Linked DNA regions of Homo sapiens: region 2 is linked to region 1. The links are contacts of gene promoters, found by promoter capture Hi-C in blood cells and fetal thymus (Javierre and others, 2016). All regions are on one chromosome and are shown on one strand. The core of a region is centred on a gene start or on the middle of the fragment in contact, and the rest is flanking DNA. Distances in the headings are between cores, read along the strand shown. Region 1 holds the start of EGFL6 (EGF like domain multiple 6). Region 2 overlaps ASB11 (ankyrin repeat and SOCS box containing 11).

Region 1 (6,049 bases), core at 1,714-4,213:
CAAAAAGATCCCAGTGTTAGGACTTAGAACACTCGAGATGGAGTTCAGATCAATAAGTGTTCTAGACCAGCACTGTCCAATAGAAATAAATATCCATATATGCCATTTAAAATTTTCTAGTAGCCACATTTTTTAAATGCTAAAGAAACAGAAGCAATTAATCTTAATAACAATTTTATCTAATGCAGTATATCCACATTACCATTTCAACATGTAATCAATATCAAATGATTAGTGAGATAGTTCCTGTTCTTTTTTTTGAAAATTAGATGTGTATTTGATACTTTTTGCAGCACATCTCAACTTGGACTGGTCACATTTCAGGTATTCAATAGCCACTTGGGGCTCCTGGTTACCATCTTTGCTGTATTGGACAGGTCTAGGGTATCTAAATAGTTCCAATACCCAAAGGACATAAAAAATATAAGGCAAGCCAAATTCTGAAGCTTAAGGGCAGGTACATGCATGGAGCTAATGATTTATTCATTTGATGAGCGTTAATTGTGTACTATGCACTAAATACCATTTAAGAAGCACATAATTTTCTAGGTTATAAAATCATAGTGCAGTGTTTCAATTAAAAAGAACTGATGCTTATACTGGAAATCTCTATACAGCAGCCACAGTTTTTCCTATAAGTTGTGAAACCCCAGGAAATAACCAGTAGACACAGTTTTCTGCAATGGGTGCCTTGCCTTCTCTGTAACAGTGTCTTATCCATAATGTGGAATCTAGAGCTGATTAAACATGGGTCCTGGACATTCCTGAAGAGCTGACCACTTGACATTTCCAAGCACATTGAGCAAATAATAAACACACCAGCTCATAAACTTGATAATCGTCTAAAGAAACCATGGTTCACATCTTGAAAACTGCAGAATTGCAGAATCCTGACATGGATTCTCCAGTTTAATATGCTTTGGTTTATCCAGGGGCTTTTGGCTTTTAATTTAATTTGGTGGCACTTTGAAAGTGAAGCTCCTGGAGGTCAGTTTGCTGGCCGCTAAAGAACTATTAATCTCATCTCCAAACAGCATTTGGTCTTTTTTAAGTGGGCTTTCTAGCAACGCAAGAACCTCTAGCATTCAAGGAAAATGTGATTATGAGCAAATTGCATCTGCTTACATTTTTATCATGAAAAGGAAATTGAAACTTGCGATCATACATTCTAAGAACCTGGTTTGAGGTTTGTTCTGTTTTAACTTCGAAATCCTTTAATACCATGGCTAACTCTGATGAAATATTTTTTCCTGTAAGTCAAACAAAGATAGGCAAACCTTCGAGAAGCCTGTACCAAACCAAAGCTCTTATCCTACTCTCCTCAGGAATCATCACTGAAAAATTTCTATAGTTCAGCAGTCTCCGCTAGGAGCAATTGTGCCCTCCAGGGACCTTGGGCAATATCCCAAACCTTTTTTTTGTTGCCACAACTTGGTGGTGGTGGTGGTGGTGGGGGGTGGGGTGGGGTCAAGGTTGCTACTAGTATCTAGTGAGTAGAGGCCACAGGTGCTGCTAAACATCCTACAATGCACAGGGCAGCCCATCACCCCAACAAATAATTATCCAGCCCAGCCCGAAAGGTCAATAATGCTGCGGTGGAAAAACCATATTCTAGTGGACACCTAAGTAGAAAGCAAGACATCACAGTTAGAGAACCAGAAAACCTCTTCCGTTGCCGGAAGGCTGCCCTAGTGCCCTGGTGAAGAACAGACTTTGGGCCAGAATACCTAGGTTTGCACCCTGGCTCCATCTCTTACTGGCTATGCTTCCTCAGGCAAATTACTTTACCTCTCTGTGCCTCGTTTTTCTCTTCTACAACACGGAGATGATGATAATAGTACCTTACACACAGAGCCATTATGGCTTTGGGTAGGTTAATAGTCCTGAAGTGCTTAGAACAGTGCCAGGTCGACAGTCACCATGTAAGCGTGCATTTACTAAGCGTCTTTGCCGATCTCTGGAAAAAATATTTCAGGTCTCAGCTAAGCTTAAGGGCAGTAGGGAACGGCTTCAGAGTCTGCATTGCCATAGCAAGAATGAGAATGGTTGTCATCTGACAACCGTGTCCTTTCTTTCCAGTTCATCAACCCTAATCAGAGAGCAGTGAGGAGAGCAGCCCGGCTGGCTCAGCTCAAGAACAGTAAATGCTTTATCGTCCTCGGTTTCTTTCCCTCCTTCCCCAGCAAAACTAGCGACTGACAAGCACTTGGTGTCCTGTGAATAGAGTGGAAAACACAAAACCGCACAGACACAGAACCCACCCACCGACACGCATACCAACCCTCACACACCTGCCCCTACAGCAGGTCTGCAGACCATCAAGCCCGCACGCACCCACGGGTCTGCGTGCAGAGCCTCCCTCCTCCTGCAACCCTCCGGACGCAGCCAGGTGGGGCACAGCTGATGCAAAAGGAGCTAACTAGGTGCAAAGCCCCGCCACAGGAGAGCAGGGAGGAAAGCCCGTGGGCGCTCCCGGCCTGGTATCCAGGTTAAATCCCGTCGCAGCGCGCACAGGCACACGTGCACACTCACACCCATACACGCGGGGGTGCCTGCAAAGACATGGGGCCCCAAAGCGGGACCTCAGGCCGGGGGTGGGGGGAAGCCAATCGCCAGTCAGACACTCACCTGGCCGCGTTCCCGAAACCACCTGCCACCCAGGAGAGCAGCAGCGGGAGCGCAAGGCTCCAGGGCAGAGGCATTCTCGCACGGGTCCTCCTTCCTCCTCCTGAGCCCCCCTCGGGAGGGCGCCGGCCGGACCCCGTAGCAGCTAAGCCGCCGCCTCCTCTCTCCTCAGCCGCTCGGGTCCTCCGCTCCACTCGCAGTTACCGGGTGCTGTCCCTGCAGTCTGGGAGGGGAGGCCAGGCACCGCGGCAGGGGCGCTCGCGGCCTGGGGAGGGGCTGGGGGCGCCCTGGCAAGCCTGGCCGAGGCTCCTCTGCGGATGAAGCTGGACGGGGTGAGCGAGGGAGGGCGGGGCGGGCTGTGCACATCTGGCTGGGACCCGCCTCCAGCATGACCCGCGCATCCTCCGCGCTCTCTGTTCACCCAGAAACTTCCCCCAGATTCAGGTCACTTCACGCTTGTCAGAGTCACCATCTACTACCATGTATTTCAGGCATGGGGCAAATTTCGGTGATACCTGCACTCCAGGACTTAAGAATTTAGTTGAGAAGTCGAAGCAGGATGGAAGGATGCAGGTTCCTAAGACATGATCCCTCACTTCTCTTTGGGTTTTCACGTTCTCCCGGTTTTCTTCTACAAACTGCAAATAATGGGATGCTAGAGCTGGAAGGTCACTAAGTCCTGGGCAACCCTGTCATTTGGCAAGTAATCTCTCAGGCCCATTTGCAACAGCTTACTTACATGGGACCCCAGATGACATCCCAATATAGTAACCAGTGCAGAAATTCATGGCAGAAACATGAATGCTATATGAATTCAGATCCATTTGGGTACTGACACATTCTTTGTTCTGACAACGTGTTACATTAGAATGAATGACTGATCCCTTTCTGTCCTTCCTACGTCCACACCCTTTGGCTTCATGGTAGGCAGACACTATGACCCCACACCTTGGCTTTGGACTTGGCCGTGTGACTTGTTTGATCAATGGTTTAAGGGCAGAAAAGTTGCAGTGTTCCAGTTCCAAGCCTAGGTCTTAACACACCTGACCCTCTATCATGGACATGAGAAGACCTTGCACCACCTAGCCTGGTGGTCCAAGGCGAATGAGAAACAGGTGAAAAAGCTACCTCGTCAACCTGCAGATCTATAGCTTGAAGCAGAGCTACTCGGTGGAGCCTCATGTATATTACCCAATCCACACGTATATGAATGAGCTCAGCTAAGGTTGCCCGGCACCAGCCAATCTACTGAGGCTTATTGTGATAGTCCTCTGACACACAGTGGCCCAGTGTGAGAAATGAAATGAAAAAGGATACAGAGAAAGAGGAGGTTTATCTTGATTGGAAGCTTGATTCATGGTTTTATAGGCATATGCCTTAATTCTGGCCAATGAAATGTGAGAAGTAGGGAGGGGGGAGATTCTTGCTGCAGAATCTTGCTTTACATTGTAATAGATGTTCTTATTGGTGCAAGCCATGTTTAGTTGGGACTTCTATTTTACAGTTGAAGGTATCCCCATGGATTCAGTATTCTTGGGTAACTAGTTAGACCATTGAGCTGCTCGTAATTAATAGTGTCAGACCTTGTCCTAAACACATATGTTATCTGATTGAACATCCACAAGCCTGTGGATGGAGACCATTAGTTCCCCCATGTTTGAAGTGTCAAGAAACTGAGTCGGAGAGGTTAAGCAGCTTGCCCGACCAAGGTCATACAGCTAACAAGTATAGAACCAGAACTGGAAACCAGGGCTTTTCCCCATTGGGCTCTGCTGCTGTTATATCAATCTCTTTTCTCATCTTCTCACGTATTGGCAGATTCACATGTCAGATGAGTATCATGAATAAGGTAATAAGATGAGCTCTTCAAGGTTGTCATCAAAACACTTTGAACTCTTCATACCATAACTTATTTTATTTACTGAAATATTAAAACTAAAAGAAAATAATATAAGTTATGAACTCTATACCTGTGAGGATCTTAAAGAAAATGGAATATAAAATTTGTCTTGTTGTGGGTTTCCCCACAAGCAGGCCCTGAGGCAAGGATTCAAGTAAAAGTAGTTTATTCTGGAGGTACAGAGAACATGGGTAGGTGAGTGAGGAAATGAGTTGGGAAAGAAGACAATATCAGGCATATATTAAGTTATCATTGTGAGCAACTGGAGGTTCATGCTGCTGGGGATCTCCCAGAGCCAGCATAGAACAAGCATCTCCAAATGATTTTACCTAAAAGGCAAGGGAACTGGGTATTTATACACCACTTCCATTCACTCATTACCTGAAAGCTTCAACTGTGGTACTGATCCTAGAACTCAGTCTTCTGTGCTGAAGACAGAGTGGGGCTTACAGCCAAAGAAAGCCCTCAGGCAAATGGCTAGTGATACTGACTGTTGAAGGTCCTACTGAAATGTAAGGCCTGAGGGGATACGGGTAGTGGCATGACATTGGCAGCTACCTAATATCTGGAACTTGAATCGAATTAAAAATTATGGATTTTTGCCCATGCCACTTCTCCCTTAACATTTGGATACTAATCACTCCCTCCTCCAAATAAACCATTACTCAAAAAAGTCCTAACTAAACATGATTAGTCTAAAATGTGAGGGCTATCTGCCTTCTTAGTCCTGAGTTACAAAGTCAGAATAACATCTTGCATTGACATTATCTGTAACTTTCTAGCTTTAGTTTCAGTATTTTGATGCTTTGTGCTTTTTCTTTGTCAGCTGAATTCTCTTTTGTAGGCTTAAAGGAGGTAATGGACATTACAACAGGAAACTTTGGGGGAGGTCAAACACTCCCCAGCCAACCCACCTATTATTTCCTGGGGGAGCTGTGAACAAAAGAGCTGTCACATAATATGAGCAACAGAGAAGGAACCTGCAAATGATGTGTTGCCAGGTGAGAAGATGTTGGATACAAATTGCCACATGGAGGCAGTTGTTTTTAGTAACTGCACTGGTGTTGCTGACTTTGAAGAGGAACCTGGAAACTGATCTTTAGGGGACCCTACTTCATCATTCTACAGAGAAAAAACAATCTTTGATCAGAATCTCATAAAATCGTCCGTGCCTTTTACAGGGCTACATTTTCTTCCAATCTATTTCCACTTAACCCCCTGTGTGGAACAGGTGTGATGGGATATTTCTGTGCTTTCTGAATACATATACATGACACACGTATAAAACTTTTAACACTTACAATGTGCCAGGCACTGAGATCTAAAAATTATTGTAATATCAGCACCAAAAGCAAAGCATTGTCAGAAGAAAGAGCTGCATAGAAGAGTGCCTAGGCCAGTGTTTTCAAGATTTAATGTCAGTACAGGTTGCCTGGGGATCTTGTTAAAATGCAGATTCTGTTTATTTAGGTCTGAGGTAAGGTCTGAGAATCTTAATTACTAAAAAGATCTCAAGCGACACCC
Region 2 (6,778 bases), core at 100-2,599, 1.7 Mb before region 1:
TCTTTATATGCAATGACTATATTTGAAGCTCATTGTGCTTTACATTACATTTAGTGTTGAATTGTGGCCATCTGTTTTGTTAAGGAGCCAGTGTCGACCATGGCCAGTGGCTGGACACCCCACTCCATGCTGCAGCGAGGCAGTCCAATGTGGAGGTCATCCACCTGCTAACCGACTATGGAGCTAACCTGAAGCGTAGAAATGCTCAGGGCAAAAGTGCGCTTGATCTGGCGGCTCCAAAAAGCAGCGTGGAGCAGGCACTCTTGCTCCGTGAAGGTAACCAAGGGCTGGGTATCCATTCCTCTTCCATAAGCACATTCTCTCCCCTTCCTGTCTCATCTGTAGCATTTTTTCCTTTTTCTTTTCTCTTTTTAATTGAAGGTGGCATTGTGGGAGGTGATAGGCCCTGCCGTCACTGACCTGTCTTCTGGGATTTTATATGCTGTGTATATTCACTAACAACCAAAGGGCATTTACCTATAACCAGAGTGTTGCTTTGTATTTTATATAACAAGAAAATAACCAGAAAACCGGCTGGGCGTGGTGGCTCACGCCTGTAATCCCAGCACTTTGGGAGGCTGAGGCGGGTGGATCACAAGGTCAGGAGTTTGAGACCAGCCTGGCCAGCATGGTGAAATCCTGTCTCTACTAAAAATACAGAAATTAGCCAGATGTGGTGGCTGGCGCCTGTAGTTCCAGCTACTTGGGAGGCTGAGGCAGGAGAATCGCTTGAACCTGGGAGGCGGAGGTTGCGATGAGCAGAGATCACACCACTGCATTCCAGCCTGGGTGACAGAGCGAGACTCCGTCTCAAAAAAAAGAAAACCAGAAAACCTTGTTTATACCCCGAAAATCTTGAATTTCCATTTCTGTCCTGGCATAAGCGTATGATTGAGCAAACCAAAACTCTGCTTTGTAATATTGGGAGACAATCTGATGGCAAATTCAAAAGACTTGAGTCAGAGTCTGTAGGGGAGGACACAGAGTATTTCAGAAATCCGACTAAATGGTGAGGTTGTTTGCCTGTTCTCCAGATCAGGGAGTAGGTGGGTCTGCATTCTTCATTGCTTCATTCCCGTTTCCACCATGAGCATTAAGAGCAACTACTGATGCCAGAAGAGGTAAGGCGAGCATCTGAAATTCAGAAGAGAACCAATTCAGAAGAGAACCTCTTATGTCTATACAGTAAGAAAATATTTTCGGAGCCTATATTGATTATTTGTGTGCCTGAAGAATATTAAAGATAATTATAATTATTCAGCTCTACGTATGCCAGGCACTGGGCTAAATTTGAAACATAGATCAAGCTCACTGAATTTTTAAAACTTTAGAGCAGTGGGAACTTTATATGGTAGTAGCTGGTTGCTATGCCAGGTACAAATGGGAAAAGAAAAGCATTGACAAGGTCACACAGCTAGCTACATAATAGAATTAGGTAGGATTCTGAGCCATCTGACCCCAGAGTGTGCACTTTTTTTTTTTTTTTTTTTTTTGAGATGGAGTCTCACTCTGTCTCCAGGCTGGAGTGCAGTGGTGCGATCTCGGCTCACTGCAACCTCTGCCTCCCGGGTTCAAGCGATTTTTCTGCCTCAGCCTCCTGAGTAGCTGGGACTACAGGCGTGCACCACCACACCCAGCTAATTTTTGTATTTTTAGTAGAGACGGGGTTTCACCATGTTAGCCAGGATGGTCTCGATCTCTTGACATTGTGATCCGCCCGCCTCAGCCTTCCAAAGTGCTGGGATTACAGGTGTGAGCCACTGCACCTGGCCATCAGAATGTGCACTCTTAATGTCATAAGGCCCCAACCCTGAATCTTTTGAAACATTCAGTGAGGAGGGTCTTATTTCACTCACCAGTTCCATTTTGTGAAACCACTACATCATATATACCTTCCAAGTAGAATGCTTGGTTTTAACCATTTTATGAATAGTCTTTCTAAATCAGTGCTTCTTAAGATTTAACATGCATATCAGTTCACTTGAGGATTTCCTTAAAATACAGATTCTCATTCAGGAGGTCTAGGATGGGACCTGTGACTCTGCATGTCTAGCAGGCTCCCACGTGATGTTGATGGTGCTGGTCTGAGGACCACACTTTGCGTACCACTGGTCTAGATTATTATTATTGTTATTATTATTATTATTATTTTAGACGGAGTTTTGCTCTTGTTGCCCAGGCTGGAGTGCAGTGGCGTGATCTCGGCTCACTGCAACCTCCGCCTCCCGGGTTCAAGCAATTCTCCTGCTTCAGCCTCCTGAGTAGCTGCGATTACAGGCGCGTGCCACCACGCCCAGCTAATTTTTTGTATTTTTAGTAGAGATGGGGTTTCATCATGTTGGCTAGGCTGGTCTCGAACTCCTGACCTCAGGTGATCCACCCGCCTCAGCCTCCCAAAGTGCAGGGATTTCAGGCGTGAGCCACCGCGCCTGGCCAGGATTATTTTCAATAGTCTAGATCATTAATCATTGTTCTTTTATTTGAATCTTCACCAGAAGAATTATGATCTTCCTCAGCAGATCCGAGCTTGGAAATACCAGCTACTTTCCAACTGTTAGCAGAGACTATAGTTTATAGAAGTTTTCACATTTCCTATTTTCTTCCATCAAAAATGTTTCTAGGACTAGGATTTGTAGACCTGGATATCCTGGACAGGGCCTAGCTCCTCTGTCCTTTGTCTTCATAAATATAGCCACTTGCTCTAGAAAGATTAATACTGGCTGGGCGCGGTGGCTCACACCTGTAATCCCAGCACTTTGGGAGGCCCAGGCGGGTAGACCATGAGGTCAGGAGTTCAAGACCAGCCTGGCTAAGATGGTGAAACCCCGTCTCTACTAAAAATACAAAAATTAGCTGGGTTTGGTGGCACCCGCCTGTAATCCCACCTACCCGGGAGGCTGAGGCAGAGAACTGCCTAAACCCGGGAGGCAGAGGTTGGAGTGAGCTGAGATTGAACCACTGCATTTCAGCCTGGGCGACCGAGTGAGATTCTGTCAAAAAAAAAAAAAAAAAAAAAGAAAGATTAAATACCAACTACATCAGAGTTCACTCTCCTGTCAGTGTCTCTGGGCACTGGACAATTTGTCTACATTACCATTTTGCAGAGGAGGTTAAGTAGGACAACAGGTAAAGAAGTTTTCTATTCTTGCTTCCCAAGATTTTAACTAAGATCGATTGTTTGGTCCTCCAGGTAGCTTTCTATCTCATGGATGCTCCTTGGCAATGTGAAGCCAAATGTTAACCTGGCTATTCGCATATGCAGTCCATCATTTTTCATGGGGTGTGAGATGCTGTTACAGTGGATTTTTTTGAAAAGGAAAACTTTGTGTAGACCAGTAATTAGGTTTTCTTGAAGAGATCTTTACTGATAACAGTCAGGTTAGGAAATAATGACTGTGCAACTAGTATTGCAGCCAAAAGCTCATTCATCCTATTCAACCATATTCTGGACTCTCATCAGCTGATTTTCCTTAAGGATTCAGAGCCATTCAAAGCCATGGGCATGATGATTCTGTGAGACTCCTTGAGAGTCCATGAGACTCAGTTTCAGGGAACAATAGGGTCTGACTTGAGTCCTTCTTGCAGATCTCTATTGAGCTGGAATCCTTGCAAGAATAAAGGGCCTCTTCAGATTTAAGTTGAGACCCAGCCAGCACCACCTCATGGGCAGCTAGAGCCGGTAGGTCCAGGAGTACTTTGAGGGCTGAATATCTGGCCCCTGGCACATCTCCTAACACTGCCTCTGTCACCACGCAGGTGGAACTTCCCGCTGACACCCTTTCCGTATTGTCCCTCTGTTCTGTGGCTGTGTCTTGGAGTCCTGCGTGTTCAGTCCTTCCATTTGCATTTTCTCCTTGGCCAGTGTATTACTTTCTTTCTTTCTTTCTTTTTTTTTTTTTTTTTTTGAGGCGGAGTCTCGCTCTGTCGCCCAGGCTGGAGTGCAGTGGCCCGATCTCGGCTCACTGCAAGCTCCGCCTCCCGGGTTCACGCCATTCTCCTGCCTCAGCCTCCCGAGTAGCTGGGACTATAGGCACCCGCCACCACACCCGGCTAATTTTTTGTATTTTTAGTGGACACGGGGTTTCACCGTGTTAGCCAGGATGGTCTCCATCTCCTGACCTCGTGATCCGCCCACCTTGGCCTCCCAAAGTGCTGGGATTACAGGCGTGAGCCACCGTGCCTGGCCCCGTGTATCACTTTCATTGGCACATTCAATACATGAATGAGATGCATTCCCTTTAGACCCCACACCTCATTCCTAACTTGCCTCTGGTTAGCTTCATTCTTCAACATTGGTAATCCAAGTACCATTGGAAGATTAACTTAAAGAAATGCATCCCTTCCAGAGGGGCAAATCAGGATCTGCTGTCTGTATTTAGTGTCCGCTACCTCATTCTATAGTTCCTATACAGATCCAGCTTCTCTTCTGCTTTTAGAAAATTTCCGCCTCTTCCAGTTCTCTGATTTCCCCCTTCCACCCCACCTCCCACCACTATGAAGTTAACACCATTTTTATTTCTCTCTCAGGCCCACCTGCTCTTTCCCAGCTCTGCCGCCTGTGTGTCCGGAAGTGTCTCGGTCGAGCATGTCATCAAGCCATCCACAAGCTACATCTGCCAGAGCCACTCGAACGATTCCTCCTATACCAATAGTCCTAAGTGTTCCTGGGAAGATACTTGGAATGACACAGATTGTTGTCTGCTGTACCTAGAGTACCTAATGTAGAAGCTCAACAGCTTAGACTCCTAGTATCTTTAAATGAGCTCAGTCGAAGTAAATCCCCCATGAGCTAGAACACTTGAGGAGTGGAAACTCCTGGTTAGTTTAATGTTCTCATTAACCAAGGGGCAAGTAGAAACCATTTAGCTTTTAGCTCTTGTTGTTAAGAAACTTAAAAGAACTGTGAAGTAGAGTGAAAACAATAGGCTGTTTTTTGATGATTCGGGATCTTCTTGTACCTAAAAGTCAACATTCTGAATATTGTATAGACACATATAAATTCAGGTGGATAAGATTATAACAAATGTTAGGTATTCCAAGATATGTTCTTGATTTAGTTCCTTCCTTCAGCCCTTCCCCACTTTTTTTCTTTCTTTCCTTGAATAAATCTGGTATAATTTTGATTTTTTGTATATATATACGTATATATATATACATACATATACGTATATATATATACGTATATATATACACACACACACATGCACTCATATATTTAATGTTTTCAAAGTCCTTAATATATATAGTTCATATATGTTTTCAAAGTCCTTAATATATGTATAAAGCTTATATATATATGTTTTCAAAGTTCTTTATATATAAAGTTATATATATTTATATAGACTTTATATATATATACATATATAAAGTTAAGGACTTCAGAAACATTGTAGTTAACTGAGGCTTCCAGTTACTGCGGTCCTGGTTGATAAGAGAGACTTTGGAAGAGATCAGTGCACCCAGAGGTTGGCATCTATTGCTTATTGCTTCTGATATTAAATGCTGTTATTTGAAGTAAGCAGTTCTAGGATTGAGAACACTGGGTGTCCCCAACAACCTGAACCCACAGGCATTGTCTGAGGCATGTTGCAACCCAAGCACTGGCTTATTTTCAAAGTCAAGATGCTCAGGGTTTTTGAAATAATTACATACTGATGCCAGCCACCAAAGTGGGCTCAATGCTGGGTCAATATTTTTTTCTGTGGATAGGGGCCCAAAATAAGCACAAAGGTATATAAAAAGAGGCTTCTCCTTTTCTGTCTTCTCCTTCTTCTCATTTCTCTCTCCTTCTGTCACCCCTCCTCTTCCTCTATTCTTTCTCTTTTTTGTGAATTTAGAACATGGGAACTGGATAGACTTTTAATTATTGTAAGTATTACTGTCATGGTTCAGTATTCAGTTCTAAAATGAAAATTCCCTCTCAGATCATCCTAAGACTCATTTCACACATGTTTTTTTTTCCCCCAATTTTTCTAGACCTTTGGCTCTCAACTGGAGACAATTTTGCCCCACTCCCACTGAGACATTTGTCAATGTCTGCAGACATGTTTAGTTGCAACAACTGGGGGAGAATTGCTACTATCATCTAGACGGTGGAGATCAGGGATGCAGCTAATCACCCTACAGTGCACAGGAGCCAGCAACAAAGAATTATCAGATCTGGCCGGGCATGGTGGCTCACGCCTGTAATCCCAGCATTTTGGGAGGCCGAGGCAGGCAGATCGCACTGTCAGGAGTTCGAGAACCGCCTGGCCACTATGGTGAAACCCTGTCTCTACTAAAAATACAAAAGTTAGCCAGGCGTGGTGGCAGGTGCCTATAGTCCCAGCTACTTGGGAGGCTGAGGCAGGAGAATCACTTGAACCCGGGAGGCGGAGATTGCAGTAAGCCAAGATCACGCCACTGCACTCCAGCCTGGGTGACAGAGCGAGACTCCGTCTCAAAACAAAAAAAAAAAAAAGAAAGAAAGAAAGAAAGAAAAACAAACAAAAAAAAGAATTATCAGGTACAAAATGTCAATAGTGCCAAGAGTGAGAAACCCTTCTCTAAGCCTGTGCTATTCAATACAGTAGCTGCTAGCTACATATGGCTAATGAGCACAGGAATTGTGGATAGGCTGAATTAAGATGTGTTGTAAGTGTAAAATACATATTACATTTTAGTGATTGAGTAAAAAAAGAATATGAAACATTATGAACTTTGTTTTGTTTTCTTTTTTAGACGGAGTTTCACTTTTGTCATCCAGGCTCGAGTGCAATGGTATGACCTTGGCTCATTG

Evidence for each region. Contacts are between HindIII fragments. The CHiCAGO score rates a contact against its expected background, and 5 or more counts as called.
Region 2: a contact is called between a fragment that was not itself captured here and the fragment with the promoter of EGFL6 in region 1, in 1 of 17 cell types (neutrophils). The highest score is 8.9, in neutrophils.

Annotation. Positions count from the first base shown.
Region 1 is chrX:13,566,515-13,572,563 of GRCh38, reverse strand. It overlaps EGFL6 (EGF like domain multiple 6), which reads right to left and starts at 2,963. Exons shown (of 12, transcript NM_015507.4): 1 at 2,629-2,963. The coding sequence starts at 2,702. The HindIII fragment of the contact is 1,986 bases long and covers 1,990-3,975 here.
Region 2 is chrX:15,281,379-15,288,156 of GRCh38, reverse strand. ASB11 (ankyrin repeat and SOCS box containing 11) reads left to right here. Exons shown (of 7, transcript NM_080873.3): 6 at 85-276; 7 at 4,528-6,460. The coding sequence ends at 4,652. Among named protein-coding and RNA genes, the nearest start is that of ASB9, 15 kb to the right of the region's middle. The HindIII fragment of the contact is 7,876 bases long and covers 1-5,287 here.